Regions from separate parts of the Homo sapiens genome. Here region 2 is linked to region 1. The links are contacts of gene promoters, found by promoter capture Hi-C in human tissues and cell types (Jung and others, 2019). All regions are on one chromosome and are shown on one strand. Each heading gives the region's core, a stretch centred on a gene start or on the middle of the fragment in contact. The rest is flanking DNA. Distances are from core to core; before and after follow the strand shown.

Region 1 (5,085 bases), core at 1,420-3,919:
GCTACATTATTAACTCACTGTGGAAGGGCTTTCTTGCTAGGCAGGGAAAAAAAAACATGGCTCCCAAGTTACAACATCCATCCCAACCAACAGACTGGGTCCCAGCCCTCTCTTTGGTCCAATATTTGAGTCAAGTAGTGTAACAACTGTGGCCAGGAAACAGAGCAATGTTGCACTAAATCATTTCTTACAGGACTCGTGTAAATCACAGGTGCTCAAATTATTATCTGGGGATATCTAAGGCAAAATTAGAGTTTACCTGATGTGACTGGGCAGGATGAGCCAAGGGAAGACTGAGAACAAGGAGATGAGGTTAGGGAGGTGGCCAGCCATGGTTCATGCAGGTCCTTGATTGGTTAGGGTAAGATTCCAGAGCACAGTTGCCCAGTGGAAATGTAACATGGGCTGGGCATGATGGTTAACTCCTGTAATCCTAACATTTTGGGAGGCCGAGGCAGGTGGATTGCTTGAGGCCAGGAGTTCAAGACCAGCCTGGGCAACATGGTGAAACATGCCCCAGAGTTAGGAGGCGGGGCCTTTGGGAAGTAATTAGATCATACCACAGCCCTCATGAATAGGATTAGTACCCTTATAAAAGAGGCCCTAGAGAGCTACCTTGTTGCTTCCATCATACGAGGACACAACCAGAACAAGGAAGTGGGCCCTCACTGGACATCAAATCTACCAGCACATTGATTTTGAATTTCTAGCATCCAGAACTGTAAGAAATACATTTCCGTCATTTATAAGCCATCCAGTCTGTTGTATTGTAACAGCCTGAACAGACTGAGACAGTAACAGAAAGGAACAAAAGTAACTGACCTGCTTCTTCATATTCATAAGCATGAAATGACAACCAAGGATCATAAGATACTTGAATAAAACTGGCAAGTTCAAAATAAATAAATAGAATGTACGCTAAAGAAACACAGTTCATGGAATAGAGATAACTTTTTAAAAGTTCAGATTAATATTCTGAAAGAAATCTAAAGTGATAATATCTATAAAATACTAACAGGTGACTGTAAAAGCAAAAAATAGTATGTTTTAAAACTATAATTCTAAAATAAAAAATCATGGGCTAGAAGAAAAAGTCAAGGAAATCCTGCAAAATGTAGAACAAGGGACAAAACGTTGATGAGTGAGAAAAAGGTTGAAAGACAGAGGTGACCCGCTAAGAAGGGCCAGTGTCCGTCAATAAGAATTTTAGGTTGAGAACAAAGAAAACAGAGAAGCAAATAAATAGGAATAGTGCTCCTATGGCTAAAGAACCATGACTTCAGATAGAAAGGTCTTACCCACTGCTAATCCATATGAATGGAAAAATACCCATATCTAACAGTATCCTGGAGGAACGTCACAATTCCAAAGACAAAAAGGAATGCCTAAAAGATTCCCAAAAGGAAAAAAGAGGGTACTCAAAGGAATGACAACTATATTGGCATTATATTTATCGGCTCACTAGATGCTGGAAAAGAAAGGAACAATGCCTTTTGAAAATCTCTGAAGGACAATGATTTTGAGCCCAGAGTTCTATAACCATTCAAATTAGCATTTAAATGGAGACCAATATATATATATTTTGATTTCCAAGGACTGAGGAACTTTATCACCTACAAACCCTTCCTGAAAGAACAGCTTAAGGATGTACTACAGCAAAACGAAAAGAAATCTAAGAAAGAGGAAGATACCAGGCTGCAGGAACAGAGGAATCCAGAGAAACCCTAGAGTGTTACTCGTGCAATAGGCCCCCAAAAGAAATAATGTGAAGACACAGGATCATTGTAGTGGATAAAGTTTTATTACAGTACTAAATTTAAAAATCACAGTATATTTACTTTTCCCTCAAGAGGGTCTGGGCACAGTGCCTCATGCCTGTAATCCCAGTACTTTGGGAGGCTGAGACAAGAGGATGGCTTGAGCCCAGGAGTTTGAGATCAGCCTGGGTGACACAGTGAGACCTGTCTCTACAAAAAAATAAGAAAATTAGCCGTAGTGACAGATAATTACATCACTGTTTCTACTGGGTCCAAACACTCTATTTGACCCTGCCATGAATATTTTTTATATCATCAGCCGACTATAGAAACTTGTTCTTGGTTTTCAGTGTTAAGAATTAACCTATAGACATTTTATGGAAGATTTAATTTGCATTAGAAACAGTGTGCTATAAACTCTGCCAATGCCAGGGCATGTTAAGAGGTATATAAAGTATAGGTAGAGAGGAAGACAAAGGAAAGGAGTAGGGGTGCCAAGTCCCTCACCTTACCCTGCAGAAAAGAGATACTTAGTGTGAGGTGGGGTTGGGGCTCAGGGGAGGGTGGCAGGAGAGTTTAGGAGAGGATAGGACACGTGGGTGGAAAGTGAGGTGAATGAGGGCTGGGAGGTTGCAGGGAGCCCTGAGTGGAAAAGGCGGGGCAGAGCAGGGGGTACTGAACTGAAGAGAGTGGAGCAGAGCAGGGGTGTGCTGGGTGGAAGGGGTGGTGCAGAGCAAGTGGTGCTAAGCAGAGGGGGTGGGGCAAAGCACGGACTGCTGAGTGGAAAGGGCAGTACAGAGAAAGGAGTGGTGAGCGGAAGAGGCGGGGCAGAGCAGGAGGTGCTGGGCAGAAGGGGTGGGGTAGGGGGCGAGGGCAGAGCGCCCCCTCGTGGCTGGGGCGCCTGCGCAAACCAGCTGCCTCACGAGCACTGGAGCTTGCGTTACTTGGCCTCACCTCACCTGTGCTGTCCACGCCTGGCTTTGTCTCACCTGACGCGATATGCCTCTCCTGCGTGGGCGCTGTCCTGCCCGCCGCCACTACCGCCGCTTGGCCCTGCTCGGCCTGCAGCCCGCTCCCCGCTTCGCCCACTCGGGGCCCCCGCGCCAGCGGCCCCTGTCTGCCGCGGTGAGTTGAGGCCCAGCCATCATGGTGGGCGGGAAGCGCGTGGCCCTGGCGGGGCGCCCCGACGGGTGGGGAGAAGGGAGGACACGGCGTGCAGGCCTCGCGTGGGAGGCTCTTGTGGCTTGGTCGCCGTTGGGGGAGGTTCCTGTGGCTTGGTCGCCTTTGGGGGAGGTTCCTGGGAGAGGGTCGCGGTGAGGATGCCGTCGTCGGGCACAGGGGCGGAAAGCCCGGGACCCTGAGGAACGCGCGGGGATTGGGCCTCCTTCGTTGTTACCCTTTACCGGCACCTGGCTCGGGGGCGGGGCTGTGGTTTCGCGGAGGAATGATTTACCATCCTCGGACGTCCTCGGCACTGCGAAGATCTAGCGTTTTCGATAAAATGGTGGAAATCCTGGGCCACATCGAAGTTCCAGAGTGCGAAGGTTGGAACCGGAGACCCCTTAGATGAAAAATGAATTAAAAAAAAAAATCAGGTGATCCATGAATCGATTTTCAGCATTTTAGATTTCACTAGGCGCCTGTTTCTAGGACAACGGTCTAGGTGCTCAAAATGTTTTTTTTAAGCACTTTTTGTTAGGCAGCAAGTCACTGGCCTAGGAAGCCATACTCAGCAGCGCGTGTCATCTTCTCTTCCAGGAAATGGCTGTTGGACTTGTGGTGTTTTTTACGACCTTCTTAACACCAGCTGCATATGTGCTAGGCAACCTGAAGCAGTTCAGAAGGAATTAGATGGAAGATGATGTTGAACAGCTGTTAACGTCCAAAAAACTTTCAGAAAAAGCTGTGTTTTTGTTAACGAGCAAAATTGCCTAGTTGAGTTGATGCAACCATTGTGGTATTCACTTTCCTCATGTTTATGATGAATATTTTGCACTTTTTTAGTACTGTGCATTATATAGATGTATAGTCAAAAATGTTCTGCTTAAGTGTTAAATAAAACGGAAACACTTATTCGTGCTTGGTAATATGTGTGCAGATTATTTTCTAAACATCGTGAAAGCTGATGAAAATTTACCGAGAACTGCTGTGAAAGGTCTGACTTAGTGACTCAGGGAGTGACATTGTTACTATATGGGAGTGAATGTATCTAGTGACATCACCCTTAAAAGATTAGATGTGTAGCTGTGAGGTAATATAAGTTTAGCTAAATGGTTTTTATGTTCTATTAGTACTGCCATGCCACACTTCACAATTTGCTGTGAGAAGTACAACCATTTCTTTGCCTCTTTAAATGACTACACGTCAGAATGTGAAGAATGAGTACATCTCCTATTTTAATGATTTTATTATCTTCTCTTAGTCTTCTGTGAGGTTTGAAGAATCATACACATCTTTGAACTGTCTTAGCTGTTGATGATGCTGTTATCATGGGCAACATAGTTCAACTCTGAGTCTTGGTTTCCTTATCTCTGTAATGGGGACTTAAAATTGCTGTCTTGAAGTGATGTTGTGGAAATAAAACATTGAACAAAGAAAGATAAAGTACCTCTCAACATAGTACCTGAAACAATAGTCAATAAATAGAAGTTGGGCAACCCGCTGGGGTCCCCTTCCGCACTGTGGAAGCTTTGTTCTTTCGCTCTTCGCAATAAATCTTGCTGCTGCTCACTATTTGGGTCCGTGCCGCCTTTAAGAGCTGTAACACTCATGGCAAGGTCTGCAGCTTCACTCCTGAAGCCAGCGACACCACGAACCCACCAGAAGGAAGAAACTCCGGACACATTTGAACATCTGAAGGAACAAACTCCGGACACACACCATCTTTAACAACTGTAACACTCACCGTGAAGGTCTGCAGCTTCATTCTTGAAGTCAGCGGGACCAAGAACCCACCAATTCCGGACACAATAAGTGATTAACAGCAGATATACCAATTGTGAGAAACACATATTCACCTGGCCAAACCCTTGGAGACATGAAGAACAGCAGAAGCGAGACTTTTAATGGCAGACTTGCAAGACTGGCCGTCTGGTAGGCAGGCACACCTGGGGCAGTTACAGCAGGTAATTTATCCCCTAGCATGTAATAAGTCCCTCCCCGAGTTCCTCACTAGTCAAGTACTATGGGGTTACAATCTTCCTGGATGTTGCCTAAGTTTCATTATCCCCCTATAAGGTTATACCCCAGTCCCCTTCCCCACTTAAGTTTTGATTTCCCAATAACAAAACTTTCTTCCCTTTTATGGGCTGATCTCTCCTCTACATTC
Region 2 (5,085 bases), core at 1,152-3,651, 60 kb before region 1:
GTAAGTCTTTGCTATTTTGCATTTGTTTCAAGCCACACACTCTTGGAAAGTGACCAAGTTGCTAAGGGAAAAAACGAGGTCATTGCTTTCAGTTGCTTCTGTTAGATTTTTAATTCAATAAAATATAATCACATCCATTACGACTAAAAATATGGGCAAATGCATTACAGAGTCCATTTTGGAACTAAAGTTATAAATAAATTTCATATTGTAAAGATTGAAAAATGCATTTGTGATCAAGATGAAAAAACAAAATCTGCAGTTTGAAGTCTACAGTAAATATGCATGTAGATGTTGGTGCTAATTCTGGGGTATTTTGCTCTGAGGTCAACAGTATTTATGACAAGGATGGTTAAAGTTCATGAGTTAACCTATAGTTCTCCTAAACAATGAACTTTTCCTCAAAAAATTACCAATGAATGGTATACTCTTACTGTTCTCACATTTTCAGAGCTGTTTACCCAGTATATATGCTAAGGTCATTATGAAAAGTCAAAGTGATCAAACATGTGCTCCTTCTTTGGAGACTCTTCCAATCTAGTCATCTCTTTTGGAGTTTTAAATACTAGTCTTTTAAATATAGGTACTGCTACCAATCAGGCTTCTTATGGTGCAATAGCAGAAAACAAGTCTAGTTGGCTTAAAGAGAAAAGGAATTTATCTCAAAGGACACTATTAATCTACAGTGTTGCTGGGAAAAGCTGGAGACCCAGCTCAGTAAACATGGACTAAGGAAGGCTGCAGGATGGGGACTCCACAACATGGAAGCCCAGTGAAGACCCTGAGTTGCCTGGGACCCTGGCCACTAAAGCTCCTACATTCTGTCCCTGGATAGTGAATGTCATCAATGGCACCACTGCCATGGCCTTCTCTCCTTTTCCACTAGATGTTGCTGCCCCACTCTGCTTCCAGAAAAAATTCTCTATAGTCCCTGCTTTTCTGTACCACTAACCCTGACTAGAGAAGGCTGCAGAAGAAAGTATATGACCTTTAAGGCTTTTCTACTGGGAGGTGGGCTCTGCCTCCTATGAAGACATACACAGTAAGGCTGGGAAGAAGGTCCTAATGCTGGGCAGCCAGAAAAGTCAAATGACTAACATAGGAATGCTACCTATTCAGGAAACAATGGCTGAAACAGTACAAAGCCCCTGTTCTCTGGCTAAGTGCTCTGAAGCAAAGTTTGAGTGAGCTACTCAGATCCCTGACCCTACAGCTTTAAACCTCCTAGCTGAGCCCACATTACCCTCAACCCAAGTCGGGGGTAATGATTTGTTGTTCAGCCACAAATCGGGCTCACAGCTGAGGCTCCTACAAGTTGATGTTTCAATCACTATAGTTTTCTGTTTTGTTCCTAAGAGTAGGCCACAGCCTCCCACCCTCATCCCTGGAAATTGGGTCCAGTATTTCTCCCTTCTCCTACCATGCCCAAATTCCTGAGCCTAGAGTCAGAAGAGCTGGTATGAGTTACAGCTTCGTGACTTCCAAACCTGGGAAAAGGCTAGTTAATAATCTCTGAGCCTCACCACATTCATCGGCTGACAGGATGACCAATGGAGATAAGTAACAGCCCTCTGTACATTCAAATTATAAGCATGAGCTCATTAGTTAACAGACTTCAAAGATATGATAAAGTCTCCAGTTCTTTAGGATTGTGGCCTTCTCTTGGTCTCTCTGGTTCTTATGGGCACTGATGTCATATCTTTACATTTAAAAAGTTAATTCTGGGCCAGGCATGGTGGCTCATGCCTGTAATACCAGCACTGAGGCGGGTGGATCACCTGAGGTCAGGAGTTTGAGACCAGCCTGGCCAACAGAGCAGATCCCCGTCTCTACTAAAAACACAAAAAATTAGCCGGGCATGGTGGCAGGCACCTGTAATCCCAGCTACTTGTGAGGCTGAGGCAGGAGAATCGCTTGAACCTGGGAGGCAGAGGTTGCAATGAGCCAAGATTGGGCCATTGCACTCTAGCCTGGGCGACAGAGCGAGACTCTGTCTCAAAAAAAAAAAAAGTTAACCTTGTAATCAAAGTAGTATATGCTCATCATTTAAAAAGTCTGGTAGTAACACAATGCTAACCCTAAACCCCCCCGCCCCCCCACCCCGTCCTACATCCCTTCCACTTTCAGTTCTGCTCCCCAGAGGTAACTACTCTCAATTCTTTAGCTCTTTCTTCTAGTATTTACCTCTCTATATTACTATTTTTATTAAATCAATATTTAGTGTTTATAATTAAATAGTGCTTACTGCTGAGCCATGCTGTGTACTAAAATTATTTATTCTTTCATATGTACTGTTAAATTTATCTTGGAAATATTCATTTCTTCTTTTTCCATTTGCTTCATTTTCTAAGAACTTATTGCTAATTCTTCATAAATGCACCACAAGAGCCATAAAATTGCTTTGTCATTTGCTATTTAATGTTCAAACATTGAAAGTAATTGATTTCTTCCGAGACACCTCTTTCCTTGGAGACTTTCACCCTCCCGGTCTGGGCTAGACTGAATGCCCACAAGACCTACTGTGTGGCTGATGCGTGGGATCTCCCTTTGCTTCCTTCCCGTGTTGGAGCCCATTTTCTAGATCCTTCACTTCTTTGTTCTTGGTTTGCTTCGTCATTTGGTGGAATACATTCCCAGCAGCTGCCTGAGTGGGGAAGCAGGGGAAATATCCCTACACAGGCAGTTTTTCGAGGTATGACTGAAAAATGCCTTTATTTAGCCTTACACTTGATTGACTGTTTGGCTAAATATAGGATTTTGTGTTTAAAATAATTTTCCATCAGCTTTTGGAAGACACTACTTCACTGTATTGTGGTATTCAGTTGTTGCTACTGAAAATCTCAATACCATCTGATTCCTATTTCTTTGCATGGAACCTAATTTTTCTCCTCCCTGCAACATTTTAAAATTGTCTCTTTTTCCCCAGTGTTCTGAAAAAGAAACTTTTTATATAGAAATTCCTTTAGTTTTGGAAATATTTCTTATATTACTCCTTAGATACTGTCTTCTCTTCACTTTTCTCTGGTATATATTTCTAAAGCCACTATTTGTTAGATGTTAGACCCTGGATGAATACTCTAGTTTTATTTGTCTCCACTCATCTCTTTATTATATTATTTACTTTCTAGATTTCCTCAACTGTACCTTTCAATGCTTCCATTATATCTTTCATTTCTGCTATCTTATTTCTAAAAGCTCCTGTTTTTACTTTAATAGCATCCTGCTTATGTCTCACTGATTCCATAAAAAGTTCTTTTATATAAGGATATTTTGATTCTACTGAAGTTTTCTTCTGCTCCCTTCATTGTCTGCTTCCTCCAGGACTTTGTTCTTTTTGCTCTGATCTCTGTCTCAATTTGGAAGCTTTCCTCAAATGTCCAGTTATCCTTGGATGGGTTTTCATATTTAAGATTGAGGCAGTAAGCAGCTGTTTGAAAGCTCTGCTGCACAGGCAGGCCTGATGACTGTAGTCTCCTCTGTAAAACAAATGGAAGGCAAGCTGGCTTTTTCATTTTATAACCCCTGAGTGTAATTTCACTGTGGAAACCCAAAACATCAGTATCTGTAAGTGTATATACTTTTGAGCTGTTCACCATTTCCAGGACTCCAGTTTCTTCTTGTATTTGCCTGGCTGGTATTACAGCAGGGGTTAAGGAAGTAGGTGATTTCACCATAGGGTTTCACATAATTATAGATTTCAACCCTGTGCCACATCCCTACCCTCCTCTGTTGCTATTTCCAGATTTGGAATCTCTCTAATTTCTTTAGAAAATTCAGAAAATTTTAGAAAATCTCAGGTCTCCTGTGTTTTGTTGTGGGGGCAGTAGCAGAGAGGCGAATTGAGGGGGCGGGGACAAGGGCATGTCACCTTGTTGCAAGTGATAGTAATGCAAGAACAGACAAATGGACCACTGGGACAAAATGGAGACTGAGTACTGATGCATGAATACAATCCATGCATACATAGCAGCTTTAAGAGTGGCACAAATCAGGAATAGGGAATTAGTAGGGAATACTTGGCTCACTATATGCAGAAGAACAAAACCACATCCTTTTCTAATACCATACATAAAGATGAATTCCAGGGTTGGGGAAAGGGTCTGATCCCTCAGTATTCAGACTTAAAATCAACTCTGTCTTTTTAGTTCTATGCTATGCATATCCCTTCTTTCCAGAGTACTTAGTTCCACCTGGCCTGAGCCACGCCAGAGCTCTAACAGGTGAACTGCCTCACTTCTCCTCAGTAGCCCCCTTTACAGCATCTAATTACAGGCTGCTCCTCTGTTAAGCCAGTAATCAAGTCTCTATCTGCTTTCCATTTTCCAAAAATTTCAACATCTTCCCCATTGTTGTTTTCTCCTTAGGTATCTTTGTCTCTTTGTCCTTGAGAGCTTATATTTGTTTTATTCCTTCACTATGATAATAGGGCTTTGAAGGAAATAAAATTAAACATATTCATTTTGTTATGTTTAAATGAAAATCAAGTGAAGTTAAATCTGGTCCTAAATGCCAGGCCTGTAAGTTGAGGCCGTTATCTACTTGTGATTGCCTACTGCCTGCTCCTCCCTACTGATATAAAACACATTCTCTGTGTAGGCCAAGAATCTCAACTCTCTGGGCTTTTTTTTTTTTTTTTTTTTTGGAGACAGAGTCTCACTCAGTTGCCCAGGCTTGGAGTGCAGTGCTGTGATCTCGACTTACTGCAACCTCTGCCTCCTAGGTTTAAGCAATTATTGTGCCTCAGCCTCCCTAGTAGCTGGGATTACAGGTATGCACCACCACGCCCAACTAATTTTTGTAGTTAGAGACGGGGGTTTCACCATGTTGGCCAGGCTGGTCTCGAACTCCTGACTTCAGGTGATCCGCCTGCCTTGGCCTCCCAAAGTGCTGGGATTAAAGGTGTTTGAGCCACCGCACCTGGCACCAAGAATCCTTTTACCCACTTGCCAAACCACTCTAGCTGTCTGCCAATACTGCCTTTTAATTTTTTTTTTTTTTTGAGACGCAGTCTCACTCCGTCGCCCAGGTTGGAGTGCAGTGGTGCGATCTCAGCTCACTGCAAGCTTCGCCTCCTGGGTTCACGCC

The links. Contacts are between HindIII fragments. The study calls those that stand out against the background at their distance.
Region 2: a fragment that was not itself captured here is called in contact with the fragment with the promoter of COX8C in region 1 in 2 of the 25 tissues and cell types used here (H1 embryonic stem cells and bladder).

The regions. Positions count from the first base shown.
Region 1 is chr14:93,344,513-93,349,597 of GRCh38, forward strand. It overlaps COX8C (cytochrome c oxidase subunit 8C), which reads left to right and starts at 2,670. Exons shown (of 2, transcript NM_182971.3): 1 at 2,670-2,882; 2 at 3,516-3,844. The coding sequence starts at 2,757. The coding sequence ends at 3,608. It also overlaps a transcript of UNC79 not described here. The HindIII fragment of the contact is 7,905 bases long and covers 1-5,085 here.
Region 2 is chr14:93,285,232-93,290,316 of GRCh38, forward strand. All of the region lies in intron 3 of BTBD7 (BTB domain containing 7), which reads right to left. Among named protein-coding and RNA genes, the nearest start is that of BTBD7, 45 kb to the right of the region's middle. The HindIII fragment of the contact is 3,624 bases long and covers 590-4,213 here.